Linked DNA regions of Homo sapiens: region 1 is linked to region 2. The links are contacts of gene promoters, found by promoter capture Hi-C in human tissues and cell types (Jung and others, 2019). All regions are on one chromosome and are shown on one strand. Each heading gives the region's core, a stretch centred on a gene start or on the middle of the fragment in contact. The rest is flanking DNA. Distances are from core to core; before and after follow the strand shown. Region 1 holds the start of EPHB4 (EPH receptor B4). Region 2 holds the start of AGFG2 (ArfGAP with FG repeats 2).

The links. The method cuts DNA at HindIII sites, captures the fragments that hold promoters and counts their contacts. A contact is called where the count stands out against the background at its distance.
Region 1: the fragment with the promoter of EPHB4 here is called in contact with the fragment with the promoter of AGFG2 in region 2 in 2 of the 25 tissues and cell types used here (IMR-90 fibroblasts and liver).

The regions. Positions count from the first base shown.
Region 1 is chr7:100,826,090-100,830,427 of GRCh38, forward strand. It overlaps EPHB4 (EPH receptor B4), which reads right to left and starts at 1,434. Exons shown (of 17, transcript NM_004444.5): 1 at 890-1,434. The coding sequence starts at 941. It also overlaps a transcript of SLC12A9 not described here. RefSeq lists enhancers at 1,438-2,233, 3,030-3,825. The HindIII fragment of the contact is 16,187 bases long and covers 1-3,859 here.
Region 2 is chr7:100,536,816-100,540,956 of GRCh38, forward strand. AGFG2 (ArfGAP with FG repeats 2) reads left to right here and starts at 2,388. Exons shown (of 12, transcript NM_006076.5): 1 at 2,388-2,752. The coding sequence starts at 2,532. RefSeq lists an enhancer at 1,738-2,239 and silencers at 2,119-2,398, 2,449-2,748. The HindIII fragment of the contact is 17,077 bases long and covers 1-4,141 here.

The sequences.
Region 1 (4,338 bases), core at 184-2,683, 290 kb after region 2:
GAGAAAGGGGGGTGTTGGCAGCTCACTGAAAGGACATTAGGGACACAGGAGAGTTTCTAGGGCTCTTGGCTCCCCCTTTAGGGGACCAGGAGGGACAGCGATCCATGGCCAAAGAAATGCTTGGAGAGACCAGGAGGTGGGAGATAGACTGGGTTAGTTAGGGCGATGTGGGGGCTGTGTAGGTCAGTTTCTACCTGGGGGCTGTGTAGGTCAGTTTCTACCCGCTCCTAGGTCTCAAGGGAAGCCCGGGACTCACCTGGGGCCGGGGTCTAGACCGCATTTAAAGGGATGGGGTGCAGCCTGTAGAAACCAAGGAGCCACCCTATACCAGGGGCAGGAGCAGTGGGCGGGAGAGCGGTTTGGGGGTTTGCTGTGTGAATGCAAAGGAGGCCATCCTGTTGCAGGAGTGTGGAACTGGAGGATCAAGGTGTGATCGCTAAGGAATTGGCGCTGGGGGTCGTTTTAGGGCCTAGCACGAAAAGTTGTGCCTTGTCTGCTGTTGCTTCTCCAGAAACCTTCCCTCATGTACGGCGGGAGGTGGGACTGGGACAGAAACTTTGCAGATAGTTTTGAATAGTGGGGTAGGGAGGAAAGGAAAGGCAGCCAGGGGCGTATGTAATCAGCAGTGAGAGTTCGGGGAGCCCGGGCAGGGGAATGTCCCGGGTCGTAGCCAGACTCCATCTCTTTCCCAAACAAAAGAAAACTCCACTACCCGTCGGGCGCCTCTTCCCCGCCCCCCTCCCGTTCCAGCACTATCGGTCCGAAGTGTTTGGGACTGCAGTGCCCGGGTAGGGGTAGTCAGAGGCCGGCCCCTCCACTCCGAGGCCCAGATGTTGGGGGGGAGGTCCCAGGAGTGACGGGGTGCGCCCCCCCCCGCAAGGAAACTCACCTTCCAAAGCTGCGGCCAACGAAGCCCAGCAGAGCAGCACCCGGAGCTCCATGGCGCCGCCTCACTCGGGTAGGATCCGAACTGAGTTTGGGGGGCCCTCGCCCCCCCAGGTCTGACTCTCCCTGGGCGGGTGGACGCCGATACTCCGCGCGGGACTCCTCGTCGGGGCCCTCAGCGCGGGCCCATGCGAGCGTGCGGGGCACCGGGCGGCGGCGCCAAGTGTGGCCCCGCGTCTGTGCCGCGCGCGCGGGCGGCGGGCCCGGAGCGTGCTGGCAGTGGCCGCGCCGGGCGGGCGCGCAGCAAGACGTGGCTGGAGTTGGGGTCCCTCCGGGGCCTCGGGGTCCCGCCCCGGGTGGCGGGGGCTGAGCCGGCCGCTCGCGGTCTCCCCCCCTCCCTGGAGTGGCTCTGCTCGCGCCGCCGGGCCGAGTGCTCTCCTCGCGGGCGGGGATGGTGGGAGCCCGAGCGGGGACGGAGCGGGAGGGAGGGAGACTGCGGCGCGGAGCCGGGCGGGCCGGGCCGGGCAGGGGCTGAGCTGCGCTGGAACTGGGCCGGGCGGCGCCGGGCCCGGGAGGGAGGGGCGCGCGGGGGGCGGGGGCAGCTCTCCCAACGCGGGGGCTCCGCGAGTGAGCCCCGGGCGCGCTGATTGGAGCTCACGCTACTGAATAATTCATGAGGGAAGCGGAGAGGGGCACCGAGTGGAGCAGGTCGGGAAGTTGAGAGAAAGTTTGGAGAAGGGGGAGGGGCGGCGGGTGAGGAACCCCGGGACCGCCCAGATGTGCGCCGTGGCGGTGCGCGCTGTCCAGGACCGAGCATGTCGGGGCTGGGGCCCAGGGACCCCCGGGACAGGCCCGAACCCGGCTGGCACCAGGGAGCAGAGAAAACACACACCCAGCAGCAACACGGAGGGCCGCCCAGGCGTGCACGTAAATGTTCACCGCGCACACAAAGCCCGCTCTGACCTTGCTGCGGACTCTAGATGCCGCTCTTGGATGCGCCCACCACCCTCTAGTGGGCGCAGGGACTGCGTTTTGGGGGAAAAGGAAGGAAAAGGGAGTAGAAGCTTTGGAGAATTGACGGCCGCCCAGGGGGCCTCAAGGAGCAATCCCAGTTTGGATAGCCTTGCAGCGAACGTTCACACAGTCACCCCATAAACATTCAGTGTTGGGGACCTACTGTGCGCGCAACCAAGCCCTGAAAAATGTCCAGAGGAGGCGCGCACTAAGCTGCGCTAGGGAGTAGAGAAAAATCGAGGAAACAACGGTAAAGAAAAGGTGGGTGTGGCGGGCGCGGTGGCTCACGCCTGTAGTCCCAGCATTTTGGGAGGCAGAGGCAGGCGGATCATTTGAGGTCAGGAGTTCAAGACCAGCCTGGCCAACATGATGAAACCCCGTCTCTACTAAAAATACAAAAATTAGCTGGGCATGGTGGCGCGCGCCTGTAATCCTAGCTACTCGGGAGGCTGAGGCAGGAGAATTGCTTGAACCGGGACCTAGGAGGCGGAGGTTGCAGTGAGCTGGGAGCTGAGATCGCGCCACTGCACTCCAGCCTGGGCTACAGAGTGAGACGAAATCTCAAAAAAAAAAAAAAAAAAAAAAAAGGTGGGTGTGTCCGAGAGGGTGAGGGGTCCGGCTAGATCTCCAAATCGCCCTTCTCACTCTCACTCTCGTGTTTTGGGGGGGCTTCCCCGCCGCCCGCAGCCATGACCCCTGAGGCTGGGGCTGCGGCTGCGGCTGCTGTCTTTCCTGAGCTGTTTCCTGTCTGGCTCCTGGGGGCCCTCGGGATGGCTGGGAGGGGCCCTTCCTCTCACTGCCAACTCCCCTCACCCTCCCATCAGTTAGCGGGGAGGGTCCAGCACAGCCGTGCTCCTCCCACCAACCCCCTTCTACTTCAGGGAACTTAACAGTATGGGTTACTGGATAGATGGATTGGAGGGGGTGCTGCTCCAGGAGTCAGCCCCTCCAAGGGGCAGAAGGAAAGGACTTAGACTCCCACAGTAATTAGCGGGGACAGATTTTTTTTTTTTTTTTGAGACAGAGTCTCCCTCTATTTCCCAGGCTGGAGTGCAGTGGCGTGATCTGGGCTCACTGCAACCTCCGCCTCCCAGGTTCAAGCGATTCTCCTGCCTCAGCCTCCCGAGTAGCTGGGATTACAGGCACAGGGCACCAACCCCGGCTAGTTTTCGTATTTTTAGTAGAGACAGGGTTTCGCCATGTTGGCCAGGCTGGTCTCGAACTCCTGACCTAAAGTGATCCACCCACCTTGGCCTCCCAAAGTGCTGGGATTACAGACGTTAGCCACCGCGCCCAGCCGGAGGACAGAATCTTGAGGAGCCCAGCAAGAGAGACGTTGGAGCCCAGCAAGAGAGACGTTGGAGTCCAGGATGCTTGGGGGGCTGCCAAGCGCCCTTACGTCCCAGAAAGGACAGCCGGGCCTGTGATAACCTCTTGTCCCGGCTTACTTATCTTCCTGCTGCAAGAGGTGTTCCCCACACCCCTGCCCTTCCTTGCTGTTCTGCCTGGGTCCTGCGCCCGGGTTGGGGGGGGTGGGCCGGTCACCGAGGGCAGGAAACAGCCGGCTTCACTGGAGCCAGGCAGACCAGGCTGGAGCTGGGAATTCCCTCCTCCCTCCCCGATGCAGGCCCAGTCTCCCCTTCTCTTATTCAGCTTCTCCCTCGGGGTTCTCTGCAACCCTCTCCCAAACCCCTGCCCTGCCTTTTGCCACTCTCACTCTGTACCCAGATCCTGTAGCCTCTAAAAGTTATGTCTTCTGGCTGGGGACAGTAGCTCAGGTCTGTAATCTCAGCATTTTGGGAGGCCGAGGCGGGTGGATCACTTGAGCCCAAGAGTTCGAGACCAGCCTAGCCAACATGGTGAAACCCCTCTCTACTAAAAATACAAAAATCAGCTGGGCATCATGGCACACACCTGTAGTCCCAGCTACTAGGGAGGCTGAGGCACGAGAATCGCTTGAACCCGGGAGGCAGAAGTTGCAGTGAGCAGAGATTGCACCACTGCACTCCAGCCTGGGCAACAGAGCCACACTCTGTCTCCAAAAAATATATAAAGTAAATAAATAAGTAAATAAATAAATAGGCTGGGCGCAGTGGCTCACACCTGTAATCCCAGCACTTTGGGAGGCCGAGGCAGGCGGATCACCTGAGGTCAGGAGTTCGAGACCAGCCTGGCCAACATAGTGAAACCCCTTCTCTACTGAAAATACAAAACTTAGCCAGGTGTGGTGGTGCAGGCCTGCAGTCCCAGCTACTCGGGAGGCTGAGACAGGAGAATTGCTTGAACCCTGGGAGGCAGAGGTTGCAGTGAGCTGAAATCGTGCCACTGCACTCCAGCCTGGGCAACAGAGTGAAACTCTGTCTCAAAACATAAATTAATTAAACAATAGAAAACACTCATCTTAGTGGGGCACAGTGACTCATACCTGTAATGCCAGCA
Region 2 (4,141 bases), core at 1,138-3,637:
GAAAAAAACAAGAGAGAGAGAGAGAAAGCAGGCTGCCAGCCACCAGCCTGGACAACATAGTGAGACCCCTTCTCTACAAAAAATCAAAAATTAGCCAGGCATGGTGGTGTGCGCCTGTAGTCTCAGCTACCCTGGAGACTGAGGTGGGAGGATCACTTGAACTGGGGAGGTTGAGGCTGCAGTGAGGTATGATTGTGCCACTGCCCTCCAACCTGGGCAGCAGAGCAAGACCTTGTCTCAAAAAAAAAAAAAAAAACAAAAAAAACAAAACAAAACAAAAAGAGGCCGGGTGCGGTGACTCACGTCTGTAATCCTAGCACTTTGGGAGGCCAAGGTGGGTGGATCATTTGAAGTCAGGACTTCAAGACCAGCCTGGCCAATATGGTGAAACCCCATCTCTACTAAAAATACAAAAATTAGCTGGACATGGTGGCACGCACCTGTAATCCCAACTACTTGGGAGGCTGAGGCAGGAGAATCGCTTGAACCTGGGAGATGGAGGCTGAGGTGGGCGGATCACTTGAGCCCAGGAGGTCCAGACCAGCCTGGGCAATATAGTGAGACCCAATCTCTACAAAAAATTTTTAAAAATTCGCCAGGCATGGTGGTGCACAGCTGTACTCCCAGCTACTTGGAAGGCTGAGGTGGAAGGATCACTTGAGTCCAGAAGGTTGAGGCTGCAGTGAGCCATGATTGTGTCACTGCACTCCAGCCTGGGTGATAAAGCGAGACCCTGTCTCAAAAAAAAAGTAATTGTTTTAAAAATGGTGACCAACCCAATCTGAAGTACCCAACAGGTGGCCAGGCATTGTGGCTCATGCTTGTAATCCCAGCACTTTGGGACGCCAAGGCGGGAGGCTCACTTGAGGCCATGAGTTTGAGACCAGCCTGGCCAACATGGTGAAATCCTGTCTCTACTAAAAATACAAAAATTGGCCGGGCGCGGTGGCTCACGCCTGTAATCCCAGCACTTTGGGAGGCCAAGACCGGCGGATCACGAGGTCAGAAGATCGAGACCATCCTTGCTAACACGGTGAAACCCCGTCTCCACTGAAAATACAAAAAAATTAGCCAGGCGTGGTGGCGGGTGCCTGTAGTCCCAGCTACTCGGGAGGCTGAGGCAGGAGAATGGCGTGAACCCAGAAGGCGAAGCTTGCAGTGAGCCGAGATCGTGCCACTGCACTCCAGCCTGGGCGACAGAGCGAGACTCCATCTCAAATAATAATAATCATAATAATAAAAATACAAAAATTATCTGGGGGTGGTGGTGGCCGCCTGTAATCCCAGCTACTCAGGAGACTGAGGCATGAGAATTGCTTAAACCCAGGAGGCAGAGGTTGCAGTGAGCTGACATCGTGCCACTGCACTCCAGTCTGGGCAACAGAGTGAGACTCCATCTCAAAAAATTAAAATTAAATTAAAAAATTAAAAAAGTACCCAAAAAGTCTTTTCCAAGATGTGATTTTAATTCTCTGCGTAGGATTTATTACTAACTGGTGATTCTTTAATTTGTGTATTGTTTGCTTCCCCCTACTAGAAACTAAGCTCTATAAGAATATTTTGTTTGATTGCTTCGCTGCTGTATTCTATTCCCAGTGTCTAGAACGTGCCTGAAACCTAGCAGACACTCAGTGTTTGTTAAATGAATAATCGAATAATAGTCCACCTACTAGGAGGGTTAAAGGCAGGGTTTCTAAAGTTGGAAGACCCAGAGTGGAATCCTGGGCCACGCACTCGTGTGATCTGCCGCAAGTTGTTGAACCTAAGGGTGTAAAATGGGGATTCCACCTCTGGGATAGGCGGAGCGAATGAAATGACATTTATAAAGCACTCCCTTCGCTCTGTGGCTCAGGAATTAGAGCACTGGTCTAGTAAAGCACTCTTGCTCCCTCTCCCTCTCTCCCTTAAGCGCTCTCTTCTTTCCCCCTCCTGCTCAGCCCCTCACATGGCCACTTCTCTTCGGCTTTGCATGACACTCTACACAGTCTAGAGTAAGCCTTTGAAATTTGCCGGGAATTAACGTCATCAGTCGGGAGGACGACAGCTACGCACGCGCGGGGCACCTCCTCTGTCTCGCGCGCTAACTTTGCAGCCCCGCCAGCCAATCAAAATTAGCGTCGGAGCCCGAGTGCCGAGGACTCACCAATCGGAACTAGGAGGCGGGCCACGGTGGAGGCAGCGGCGAGAGGGGGCGGGGACAAGGAGAGGGCACGCACGGTTCTCGCTGCTGGGGTCTCTGCCGGCCAATAGGAGAGGCCTGAGGCCTGAAGGCGGTGGGGCGGGGCATTGGCGGCTCCAGCAACCGGAGGCCGTCCCAGGGAGGGCCAATCGGAGTAAGGAGGTGGGAGAAACCTAGCCAATCAGTGTGCAGGACGGGCAAGGAGGGTGGTGGACGGCGAAGTCTCCTGCGGATGCCGCCCGCTCCCGAGCTTCTGTCAGGGGAGCCGGGCGTGCGGAGGCGGCTGAGGAGGCGGGAAGGCGGCAGTGGTTGAAGGGGTGATTGCTGACTAGCGGGGAGGGAGTGGGCAGCGATGGTGATGGCGGCGAAGAAGGGCCCGGGCCCGGGCGGCGGGGTCAGCGGGGGCAAGGCGGAGGCGGAGGCGGCCTCGGAGGTGTGGTGCCGTCGGGTGCGGGAGCTGGGTGGCTGCAGCCAGGCCGGGAACCGCCACTGCTTCGAGTGCGCCCAGCGCGGGGTCACCTACGTGGATATCACCGTGGGCAGCTTCGTGTGCACCACCTGCTCCGGCCTCCTGTGAGTGACCGGGAGGGAGTGGCCGAGGTCGGCGTGGGGGGACCCGGGGGCGGGGTGGGGAGGCCGGGGCTCCGGGGCGCGAGGGAAGGGGGCCGAGGTGAGGGGCGGAGGGGAGGTCAGGGAACGCGCCGGCTGTGGGGACGGGGTCGTCTGCTGCAGCGGTGTGGTGGGGAGGGGAAAGGGCAGGGGAGAGGAAGCAAGGCCGGAGTCGCTCTGCGGAGAGAAGGGTACGGGTGCAGAAAGACGCCCGGAGAGGGACCGAGAAACTCCCCGAGGGGGTCGAGGCAAACTGCAAGTGGGGAGGGAGAAAGTGCGGAGGATGGAAGGGAACTCGGAGTGGGATGGGGTGTCGGGACTTAAAGGGCCAGAAAATGACATGCACCTTTAGAGGGAACTTCATGCAGGTGGAAAGCAAAAAGGAAAAAGGTGGGGAAAGCCGGCCTGGAGATGGACGGGCACCTTTCTTCCTTCGGGCTTGTGTCCCTGCTGGAGTGTGAGATGCAGAAGCCAGCTGAAACTTGGTTGAAATTCCTATGATTAGAGTACAGGATTAAAAAAAAAAAAAAAAGCGAATTAACCCCGATTGACAGCCTAGAGATAGTGGCTGGAAGGGAGCCATGGTCCAGAGTTCAGGTGTAGATACTAATCTTAGCAGGGCTTTGAAATGTTACCCAGAAGGTAAAACTCTTACGAAATCTAAGAGATGAGAGCCAATGGGTTACCCTGGTAGAGAGCTTAGCTTTTTCAAACGTTTGCACGTCTAGGTGAGCCATCCTGAAGGTTAATCATTTACACCTTTAAGATCCCTGTTGCCATGACTGGATCCTGGTGGTAGCATCCAGGAAACTCTAGATTTTGGGGGGGCTTTGGTGCATCATCTGAGTGCTACTCTTGGCATTGGTACTGTTCGGTCATGCCAGAGTGAATTTACAGCCACAATTCTAGCCTAGATTTCTGGTTATATAGTAAAGCCCCCTCCACTCCCCTCTGCACTCCTCCTACTCCCAAATTAAGATATTATTTGGTTAGATGCATGATTAACATCTGATATCAGGCCTGGATCTCTGTTTTTTAATAAGTTTGTCAAGGGATTTATTTTGACAATTTTTTAGTCTTATTTTAAGACACTGTTGTTTTTGTTTTGTTTTTTAAAAAATGCTTTCCAGCCAGGCGCTGTGGCTCACGCCTGTAATCCTAGCACTTTGGGAGGCCGAGGCAGGCAGATCATGAGGTCAAGAGATCGAGACCATCCTGGCCAACATGGTGAAACCCCATCTCTACTAAAAATACAAAAATTACCTGGGTGTGGTGGCGCGCACCTGTACTCCCAGCTACTTGGGAGGCTGAGGCAGGAGAATCACTTGAACCCGGGAGGTGGAGGTTGCAGTG